Regions from separate parts of the Homo sapiens genome. Here region 2 is linked to region 1. Evidence: promoter capture Hi-C in 16 types of primary human blood cells and fetal thymus (Javierre and others, 2016). All regions are on one chromosome and are shown on one strand. The core of a region is centred on a gene start or on the middle of the fragment in contact, and the rest is flanking DNA. Distances in the headings are between cores, read along the strand shown.

Region 1 (5,748 bases), core at 1,582-4,081:
GGCCACTTCCCCCAGGGCTTAATAAAAAGCTGCAGATCTGGCCCCGCTTCCACCAAATACTTCCCCAGTCCTCTCCTCAATCTATACAGGAAGGCAGGGGAAGGAATGAAAGGAGGCAGTCGGTATTGCGGAGGACGGTGTTTCTGGTGGGAAGTGATGTAGCTGGGAAGGACATAGGACAATCTCTCCAAGGTATCAGAGGGCCTGCTGGAAGGGGAGTCTGGTATTCTATCTGTTGCCTGCAGATCTGTTCCTCCAGCACTCTTGCTGACTTATCCCTGTCTGTATGGCAAGGGGGAACAACAAAATTGAAGAGGGATATAGCAGGGGAGAGAGGAGTAGCCACGGGGTGGTCTTCAGTCCAGCCCTTTTGTGTGGCAAAGATGTGTATTTCTCCTGGGTCAAATTCTTCCTATGCGGAAGATAAATGGTCCTGAGTGATCTTGCCTGAGAGGCTGAGTGTACTGCCCGGTGCTGACGGCGGCGGGGGCGGGTGATGGAAAAGATCTCCCATGGAACTGTGCGGCAGGGAGAAGGCCCCACCCGACCTCCCCATCTGTACCCCACGAAAGGAATTTTAAACGAGACAGTTACCAGAGAGGCAGGAATCAACTAAGAAAATTCAGCAGTGGCTAGTTAAGAGATATTTGTCTCATTTTCTCTCCTCTTCCTTATCTCAACACAGAAGCCAGGCCTTGCAGAGGTACGTTGAGAAGTGTCTGCATGCCAGAACCACGCTTTGCACCTTCCCACTCACACTAAGGGATTTAGGGTCCCACTTGAGACATGAGATCGACACTTTAACACGGTCTGATTTTTGGTAACTCAAATGGACCAGAAAGTTAAGGTATCATCTAAGGTGTGAGTGAGGGATGGAAAAGATTTAAAAGGATAGCGATTGGAGGCTGGGCGCAGTGGCTCACCCCTGTAGTCCCAGCACTTTGGGAAGCCGAGACGGGTGGATCATGAGGTCAGGAGTTCGAGACCAGCATGGCCAACATGGTGAAACCCCATCTCTACTAATACAAAAATTAGCTGGGAATGGTGGCGCATGCCTGTAGTCCCAACTGCTCGGGAGGCTGAGGCAGGAGAATCGCTTGAACCTGGGAGGCGGAGGTTGCAGTGAACCAAGATAGCACCACTGCACTCCAGCCTGGGCGACAGAGCGAGACTCCGTCTCAACAACAAAACAAAACAAAAAAACCAAGTATACAATGTTGATACATGTGTTTCTTTTCCTGTTTCTCTGCAGTGTCTACTGAGATTGATTTTTTACCACTTGAAAATGATGGGTGAGTCTAGCGGAAAGGGATCCACTTCTTGAATTCAAATAGACTAGACTGTGATTTTCAAGTCCCTAATGAATTGTTCTAAAATCGCTGAGTTTTGAATTGCCAGGAAAACATTGAAGACAGAGACCAAAGCCCTGAGGGCAGAGAGGAGCTGCAAACCAAGACCTGAATATTTGAAAATACCATTTATTAACCTTCAAATGCAATTGTAGCTGCAGCACCATCACTGCTGGCCTGTAAAACATTTTATATTCTTAAGAGGGAGGCATTCGTGATACTAATTCTTTTTACAGATAGTTTCTGATGTTATCCCAAAAGCAATGCACTTTAAAAAATAATGATCAGAATCAAAGAATTTAAACAAAAAGCAAAGAATTTAAACAAAAAGCACTTTTCACCGCATTATTTAATTAAATCATTTGTCAAAATGAAATTTGACCTTCTGCTTATTGGCAAAATCCTCATTTATAACATTTACAAGAGATTTTAACTCAATAAACGAAGTACGTTAACAGTGCACTGCCCTGCCCTGCAGTAACGCCCCCCACCCCCACAAACTGTATCTGGGGTCAGCTGTTGCTGGGAATAAAAATAATAGGCAGATTCACTCCAGCTTTCAGTCTTTCATTTGCAACCAATCTCCAAGCCCCAGAGCCTGGGGGCCGTGCCTTTCCACCCTTCACGCGGGGCGCACGGATCTGAATATTTAACACCCGGTTCCAGGACACGCGCCTGGGGAACACCCACAATCCCTCGCGGCCCGCGGAGCCCGGCTGGCGGGTGACCCAGCGCCCGCGGCTCCGAGAGGAGCGAGGTCACCCGGCGCTTCCCGAGACCTTGGCCCTAGGCCCAGCTGGCGCTGGGACGCGAGGCAACCGAGCCGCCGGCCAATCAGCGCTTTGCAGGACTAGCACGCAGGGGCCGCACCCCTGAGGGTGACCGGAACCGCTCCCGCGGGAAGGGCAGGGTGCGGCGCCTGGCCGCAGACAGACAAGGGGGCGCCGGCTCTTCAGAACCCCAGGGAGAAAGCGGTGGAGGGCTAGAGTTGAGGAGACTAAGGACATTTGAGGAGGGCAGGCATTACCAAGTTAAAACCTCCTGAAAGACAACTCCATTGGGCGACCGTCTGCGCCGCACAGCCTGACGGGAGCGTCATCCTTCCTGCGCAGGCTGCAACCGACAGACAGGCTCGGCTCCGCCTCCAGCCGCGGGGCACGCGGGGAGAGCCGTTCCTCCCTCCCTCCGCTAACCCGGACAGCAAAGGAGCATTTCCGGCGTAAGACTGTCCCTACGGAAGGGGTGGGGCTAGCTTGGCCCCGTCTTTCACGCCCAGAGGGGGCGGGGTGAACCGTGACAGCGCTTCGGCCCGCACTAAGGCCGGCTCTTGTGCCGGAAGGAGGAAGGCGTGGGCATTCGCCCCTCGGAGCTAGGGAGTGTGTGCGACGCCGCTGCGAGGTCACGTGAGCCACTGCCGGCAGAGAGGGAAAGGGGCGGGGCCCAGAACGAAGCGGGGAGGCGCCCCTTGTTTCCCTGGGGTCACGCGCAGCCGGAAGTGGCGGCTGCTGCGGAGAATTGGAGATGGGGACCGCCCTGGACATCAAGATTAAAAGAGCGAATAAAGTTTATCACGCCGGGGTAAGTGGGGGCTGGGGGTGGGGATGGAGGTGGGGTTGGGCGGGTCTGCAGGTTCCGCTGTCTCCATCGCTCTGCGCACGTCCCGCGTCCCTAGGCGGGGCAGGGCTGTCCCGCCAGGTGCGTCTCCGCCAAGGTGGGTGCGTTCCCGCCAGGTGCGTCCCCGCCAGGTGCTTCCCGCGCGAGGCTGGCTGCCCTGCGAGGAGGCCCCAGGGCAGGCGCCGCCGCCGCATCTGCGGGACGTGCAGGGCAGGCGCCCAGCTCCGGGGCTGCGCTCTTCCCATCTGGCCCCTTGAACACCCGGCGGTGTTGGGTTCTCAGGCTTGAGCTCCCTCAGTGAGCGCTGAGGGCGGAGGAGTTGACGACCAAACTCCCCTTTCCCTCTCTCCTAAGGTGACCGCAAAGGTCTAATGAACGAAAGCTAAAACAAACCTTGGAAGCAGAAATGGGTATGTCTGGCGGCAGCATATATTAGATGGTAGTCACTTTTAACAACATACTAACATACTACGAAAGTTACTGCTTTTTCTGGTTTTATTCTTCGACTGACACAAAGGAATGGCTATTAAAATGCAAGTATAAAAAAGTAAAATCTTGACTATGCCATTAACAGGTTTTGTGACATTGGCCAGTCATTTAACCTCCTTGGGCCTCAGTGTCCTTATTTGCAAATGAGGGTGTTGTAAGGTTCCTCTAACTCGGGGAATCTCAACCCTTACTCTACATCAGAATCAGTCATCCTGGAGAATTTTAAAATATGATTGCTTGGGTTCCACTCCCAGCGATACCGGTGATATATGTGCAGCTAGGGTTGAAATCACAGCCCCAACACTCTTTGGAATAAAATTGATCGCAGTGGTTGGTCATATTAATGCAAAGTAATCTCAAAAGGGACAGAATTTCAGACAAAGGTCTTGGATGGATGCTAAAACTTTTGGGCAAAAGACAACTAGGGAAGCCTGCTCTTATTTACACAAGCTCAAATGGTCATCCCCTTGATGGTTAATTACAAAGGGAAAAATCTGGCCCGCGCGGTGGCTCACGCTTGTATTACCAGCACTTTGGGAGGCCGAGGCGGGCGGATCACCTGAGGTCAGGAGTTCGAGACCAGCCTGGCCAACATGGTGAAACCTGGTCTCTACTAAAAATACAAAAATTAACCGGGCGTGGTGGCGGACGCCTCTAATCCAAGCTACCAGGGAGGCTGAGGCAGAAAAATCGCTGGAACCCGGGAGGCGGAGGCTGCAGTGAGACGAGATTGTGCCACTGCACTCCAGCCTGGGCAACAGAGTGAGACCCCGTCTCAAAAAAAAAAAAAAAAAAAAAAAAAGAGAAAAAGCTACCTTTATAATGGAGAAATCTGGTAGTCACACTCCTCTAGCCAAGCACAACAATGAACACCACTTCACCATCACAACTAATGAGACGACTGACATTCGGTACCCCTTGGCATGATGCACAGAGAAGGCCACAACTCACCTATGTAGTATTCCTGCCAAAAATGTTTAATCCGTATCAGTTCATAAGGAAACAATAAGGAATATCCAAATTGAAGGGCATTCTGTGAAACAAGTAGCGTGGATTCTTCGGAAATATCAGTGTCAAAAAATAAAGGCGAGATAATTTTTCTAGACTATAAGACTAAAGGGACATGAGAACCAAATAGAATGCTTAATTTCTGATAAAATATAAATTCGACTATGGACTATAATTGTTGTATATTGGTGTTGAATTTCTCCAGTGTAATATTTATATTTTGGTTATGTAGAATACTCCACATGCTGAAGTATTTAGGATCAAAGTGTCAAGCCGTAGACTGTGCACATATGTTTATGCACATATGTGTATAGGAGAAAGAAAGTGAATGTGGCAAAATACTAACAATTGCTGAATGAAGTTAAAAGCTACATGGGTCTACTTTGTATTCTTTTTAAAAACAGCTTTATAAAGATAATTTAAAATACGAAATTTACCCTTTGAAAGTATACAATTCAGTAGTTTTTTAGTGTATTTGCAGAGTTGCACACCCATCACCACGATCTAATTCTAGAACATTTTCACCCCAAAAAGAAACCCTGAACCCATTAGCTGTCACTCCTCATTCCCCCTCCCTCCTGACCCCTGGCAGTCACAAATTGACTTTGTCTCTGGAGTTGCCTATTCTTGACATTTCATATAAATGGAATCGTACACTATGTGGCCCTTTTGACTGACAGGCTTCTTTTACTTCGAGTAATGTTCAGTGTTCATGCTTGTCATAGCATGAGTCAGTTCCTCATTCCTTTCTGTGGCTGAATAATATTCCATTGTATGGATAGATCATATTTTGTTTAACCACTGGTCTCTTGATGGACATTGGAGTTATTTCTACCTTTTCGCTATTAATAATGTTATGAACATTCTAGTACAAGTTTTTATGTGAGAGGATGTTTTCATTTCTCTTGGATATATACCTAGGAGTGGATTTTGCTGAGCTACTTTAACTTTTTGAAGAGTTGCCAAATTATTTTCCAAAAATGTCTGCACCACTTTACAGTCTACCAGCACTGTATGACGGTTCCAATTTTTCCACTACTTTGTATTCTCGTAACTTTTCTGGAGCTTGGAAATGTTTCAAAATAACAATGGGAGGGCAGTGACAGGAGACTATATATGCATTTAACTTTAGTATTCATTATTTCATTAACAAGTTAGCATGTTCTCTTCAGAAATGTTACTCCAGCTGGGATGCTGAGATATTTTCTGTGGTTTTAAATATGATACAAGTAATGAAAAGTACATTAGAAAAGACACAAGCAGTGGAATGGTAAAGTTGCCCCAGCAG
Region 2 (5,748 bases), core at 1,832-4,331, 400 kb before region 1:
GCTATGCGCTCTGCAGTGTTCTAGGTAGTCAGGACACAGCATGAGTAAACCAAGCTTACATCCAAGTGAGCAGAGAAAGACTAAACCAGAAAGTAAGCCTGTCGGAGTGAGACGTGCAGAAAGGAAAGGAATCACGGCTCTGGAGGGGGTGAAGTACGTGAGGTATAGGGGAGTCAGGGAAGCTGTCCCTGCAGAGCTAATACTAGATCCATCCTGGGTGAGAGGAGGTGTGAGCCCTGTGGGTATCAGGGAGAGAGTGTTCCAAGCAGAGAGGACCTGCATGCAAAGGCCCTGTGGTGAAAGGAAGCTTGGAGAAGCATCAAGGAGGCCTGACTCGGCGGAGCCAGTGGGTGAGGAGGGGAGTGGGCAGAGAGGAGGCGAGTGAGGTCACAGGCACCAGGCCAGGGAGAGCTTTGTGTGGCTTTTGCTCTGAGAGGGGAGCCCTGGAGGGTGTCGAGCAAAGAGTGGCATGACATTACATGCATTTTGAAAGGATGGCTGTGGTTGGCGTGTGAGCTGTAGATGACCAACTGTCCTCATTTGCTTGGGACTGAGGGATTTCCGGGATGTGGGACATTCAATGCTAAATGTGGGTAAGTCCCAGGCAAACAGAGATTAGTTGGTCACACAATGTGCAGATAGCAGCCAGTAACTGGGGAAAGGTTTGCTGCAGTAACTCAGCTGAGAGCTGACATTGGGGACAGGTTGGGTTGAAGGTGAAAAAGATGCCGTTGAGTTCCGCAAACCATATCTGGGGCATATTTCAGGGATCTGAAGGTTCTCCCCTGGCCCCACACTCCAGAATAGCCTGTTTACACTGGCTAGAGGGCAGTTAGACTTCACATGGTTGGGATATGCTGTCATCACTAAGGGAAATCACAGGGCTCAAAGTCACAGCATGGAAGCAAACAGGTAAACCCTGAGGGAACAGCATCAGCTCTCCCTGCTCTTTGGCCATCTTCTCTCCCAAGGCTCCTCCAGGTGTCTCCGATGTGCAGCCAGGATGAGCCCCAATGAGAGCCCCTTCCCCTTCTTTCCTCCACTGGTTTGCCTGATCAACTCCTACTCATCCTTCAAAGCCCAGCACATCTTTTGTAAAGACTTCCCTGCTTCAGTCCTGCCTAGAGAATCCCTCCCTTCCCTGTCCCCCTCTAACTCTGAACACACCTCTAAAATTAAACATACCCATCTGTCTGCTGGTTATGCATGTCAGTGCCTGTGTCCTCATTTCTGTCTCATCCCTGTGTCCCTGTGTTGTGTCCTATCCACAACAGGTGTGTGATGAGTGAGTTGGACACAACACAGACACAAGTGAGCCCAGCCACTGGGCCAGGAAAAGTGCTGCTCTGAGATGCACCCTCATTTCTGAAGCTGAGAGACAAATCCTATCCCTGAGAAAAGGAAGCCTGGAGCCCCAGGAAGGAGGATGGATGAGCTCCAAGGAGCCGGCTCCTGGAAAGAAACAGGACTGGAAGAGGGGGAGGGGACAGGGGCAGCCCAGCCAAAGGAAGCTGCAGGACAGTCCAGCTGGAGATGGAAGCCTCCCAGTAATGGGACCACCCAGGAAAGCTGATGGACAACCACCCACTTCCCTAGCTCCAGCAGGCTGCCCCTGGGCCTATCGGCCATAGCCCTAGAGATGGTTCAGGTCCCAACCCTCTTCCTCCAGCCTCTGCTCCATTTCCACCACTCCTCTTTCCCTCATGCTGTCTTACCTGTCCCCGTCTCCTCTCAATTCTTCTTCTCCTCCTTTGTTTTCTCTCTCTCATTTTGCATTCAATAATGAATATTATTGCTCATTAAAAACGTTTTGAGAATAATGTAAAAAGGAGACTTTTATAGCATTTACCACACTTAAAAGAAAAATCTGGCCTGGACAATGTAGCAAGACTCTGTCTCTACAAAAAATAAAATAATTAACAGGGCACAGCAGCATGCACCTGTAGTCCCAGCTACTTGGGAGGCTGAGACAGGAGGACCACTTTAGCCCAGGAGTTCGAGGCTGCAGTAAGCTGTGATGGTACCACTGCACTCCCACCTTAGCCACATAGCCAGATCCTATCTCAAGAAAACAGAGAGAGAGAGAAGAAAGAAAGAGAAAGGAAGGGAAGGGAAGGGGAAGGGAGAAAAAGAGAAAGAGAGAAAAACCTACCATCTCCTTACATGTGTATTACATCTTTATTTCCTTTTTGATTAGGTAAAAAGTCCAAGTGAAACAACCATAGCTGATAAGTTTATACTAAGCTAAGGATATACCATGTATCTTGAACTTTAACATTTTCAAGTAAAAAGAGATGTCAGAGAACCCAAACTGACTTATGAAAAAAGAAAAAAAAATTGAGGATGTCTTAGCTCATACAACCAAAAACCCAGGGGGAGAGGACTTCCGATGCTGCCGGTTCCTAGGCGCTGAGATGACCCCCAGACCCAGCTCCTTTTCTCCAGGTCTCCTGCTTTCCCTTCCTTCTGCATCACCGTCATCCTTAGACTACTTCTTTCATGGTAGCAGAAGTGTCCACCACATTTCAGGCCCCAACTTCTCACAAGCAGAAGAGTCAGGATCTCTTCCAGAAGCTTCCACAGAAAAGAGAAGCTTCCTTCCTAGAAGCTAAAGCTATATTTCTTTGCATCTCATTGTCCTTAAGGAGGTCATATGCCATTTCCGACCCAATCACTGGGGACAAGCAGATGAGCTCTATGGACTTGCTTAAGCCAAGCAGGGATCACCCTTAAGAGATGGGGTCAATCCCTCCTAGACTACAGGTAGAGAATGGGTCAAGACACAATTCCCTCCAGAGCAATTAAGTAAAAAAAAGAAACAGAAAGTATTCCAATTGGAAAGAAGTAAAACTAGTTCTATTCAAAGATAACATGATCTTATACAGAGAAAACCCCAAAGAATCCACAAAAATACTACGAGAGCCAATAAACAAATTCAGAAAAGTTGTAGAGTACAAGATCAACACAAAAAAAAATGTTGAATTTCTATACATAAGGACCTAGGAAGAAACAAACTCCGCATCTCGTACTATACTCTTACAACAGATAACACTTCCATGACTCCAGAGGGCTGTTGGGGTTTCTCCAACAACAACCAGTGCTGCAGGTCATTCTCCAGTGGACACCCCTGTGTGTTCCCTAATTCAGTTCAGCTCTGACACTGTCTACCTGCAGGCAGTGTCAGATCCCACAGGGTGAGGGCTCAGCCCCACAAGCCTGCCCCACCCCGGCAGATGCCAGTCGCAAGCACAGGTTGTGGCCTGTGCTTCTGACCAACTGGCTGTAAATTGGGAGTTCCCGCAACCCCATCCTGGGATTCAATTAATTTGCGAAAGCAGTTCACAGAACTCAGGGAACCACTCTACTTACACCTACCCATTTATTATAAAGGATATAATTAAGGGTACAGATGAGCAGCCAGAAGGAAGAAGGGTACAGGGCAAAGTGTGGGAGAAGAGGCAAGAAGAGGGGCACGCCCTCCCTGGGTTAACCCCTTCCAGGAACATCCATGTGTTCAGCTTTCCAGAAGCCCCCAGAACTCAGTCCTTTTGCTTTTCTATGGAAGCTTCATTATGTAGGCATGAGTAATGATATCATTGGCCATTGGTGATCAACTGAACCTTCAACCCCCTTCCCTTCCCTGGAGGTTGGGGGTGGGACCGAAAGTCTCAACCTTCTAATCATGCCATGGTCTTTCAGGTGGCCAGCCCCCACCCGGAAGCTATCTAGAGGTCTGCAGCTGCCAGTCATCTCAGTAGCAAACAAAAGACATTCTTAACACTCCAGAGATTCTAGTGGTTTTAGGAGCTATGTATCAGGAAATGGGATAAAGGCCAAATATATATTTCACAATATCACAATACACTAGCAATGGACAATTCAAAAAGGAAATTAAGAAAACAGGCCCATTGACAATAGCATCCAAAAAATGAAATAAAATACCTAAGTTCAAACCAAGGAAGTGAAAACTCATATACTGAAAATCATAAGGTCCTGCTGAAAGAAATGAAAGAATATCTAAATAAATGGAATAACATCCTGTGCTTATAGGTTGGAGGGCTTAATATTATTTTTGCTTTGTTTTGTTTTGTCTTTTTGAGACAGGGTCTTATTCTGTCACCCAGGCTGGAGTGCAGTGGCACGATCTTGGGTGACTGCAGCCTCTGCCTCCCAGGCTCAAGTAATTCTCCCACCTCAGCCCTCCAAGTAGCTGGGACTACAAGCATGCACCACCATGCCCAGCTAACTTTTGTATTTTTAGGAGAGACATGGTTTCACCACGTTGCCCCGGCTGGTTTCAAACTCCTGAGCTCAAGTTATCTGCACACCTCAGCCTCCCAAAGTGCTGAGATTACAGGTGTGAGCCACTGCACTCAGCCCAGGCTTAATATTATTAAGATGGCAGTACTACCCAAAGTGATCTGCAGATTTAATGTTATCCCTGCCAAAATTCCAATGGCCATTTTGCAGAACTAAAAAGCCCAATCCTCAAGTTCATATGGAAATGCAAGGGTCCCCAAATGGCCAAAACAATGCTGAAAAAGAACAAAATTAGAAGATTCACACTTCCTCATTTCAAAACTTACTATAAAACTATAGTAATTAAAGCAGTGACTGAATATAAGGCATAAGGATGGACATCTAAACCAGTGGAATAGAATTTAGAGTCCAGAAATAAACCTGCACACCTTAGAATAATTGACTTTCATGAGGACACTAAGATCATTTAATGGGAAAGAATCCTCTTTTCAACAAATGGTGCTGGGACAACTAGATATATACATGCAAAAGAATTAGTTGAAACTCTACCTCATACATTTGCAAAAATAAACTCAAAATGCATCAAGACCTAAATAGAGGAGCAAAAGCTGTAAGACTCTTTAGAAGAAAACACAGGGGTAAATCTTCATGACTTCGGATTCATCAATGGATTCTTAGCTGTGACACCACAAGTACAGGCAACAAAAGAAAAATATAAATATAACTTCATCAAAATAAAAAACTTGTATGCATTGAAATACATTATCATGAAAGTGAAAGACAACATACAGAATGGGAGAAAATATTTTCAAATTATTTTCAAATATTTTGAATATCCATCTTAACCATGTTATTCCAGCTACAATTCTGTGAAGACATTTCAGAGTCTCTGCATATTTCCTTATTGTAAGCTCCAAACAGTAGATTCAGCATCATGAAAATGTCCAAAGCATTGTTGTTTTTATCCCTGCATTATAGCAGAGATGCATATGCACATTCACACACACACACACACACACACACAACACACACAGACTTCATGCTCCCCAACACCACCTACCATCTCCCTAAAGATACAAAGAACTGATTGGCATCAAGCAGAGATTTCTTTGAGGCTTCCCTGTTTTGTTTTCATTGAGCTTTGAATTTGTAGTATGTCAGCAAAAAAAGGCAAACTCTGTAAACTACTTAAAGAGGTTTATTCTGAGCCAAATATGAATGACCAGGGCCCAAAGCACAGTCTCAAGAAGTCCGGAGAACATGTGCCCAAGGTGACTGGGTTACGGCTTGGTCATATACGTTTTAGGGAGACATAAGACCTCAATCAATACATGTGAGGTATAAATTGTTTAGTTCTGGAAAGGCAGGACAACTGGAAGGTGGGGGGGTGCCTTACAGGTCATAGGTGGATTCAAAGATTTTCTGATTGGCAATTGGTTGAAGAGTTAAGTTATTATCTAAAGACCTAGAATCAATAGAAAGGAGTGT

The links. The method cuts DNA at HindIII sites, captures the fragments that hold promoters and counts their contacts. A CHiCAGO score of 5 or more calls a contact.
Region 2: a fragment that was not itself captured here is called in contact with the fragment with the promoter of VPS26C in region 1 in 1 of 17 cell types (endothelial precursors); the score reaches 6.1 in endothelial precursors.

What each region holds. Positions count from the first base shown.
Region 1 is chr21:37,264,417-37,270,164 of GRCh38, reverse strand. VPS26C (VPS26 endosomal protein sorting factor C) reads left to right here and starts at 2,831. Exons shown (of 8, transcript NM_006052.2): 1 at 2,831-2,927. The coding sequence starts at 2,871. RefSeq lists silencers at 2,026-2,185, 2,926-3,235 and an enhancer at 2,726-2,785. The HindIII fragment of the contact is 6,761 bases long and covers 1-5,748 here.
Region 2 is chr21:37,669,114-37,674,861 of GRCh38, reverse strand. The region is part of intron 3 of KCNJ6 (potassium inwardly rectifying channel subfamily J member 6); the gene reads left to right. All of the region lies in intron 1 of KCNJ6-AS1 (KCNJ6 antisense RNA 1), which reads right to left. Among named protein-coding and RNA genes, the nearest start is that of KCNJ6-AS1, 150 kb to the right of the region's middle. The HindIII fragment of the contact is 972 bases long and covers 2,596-3,567 here.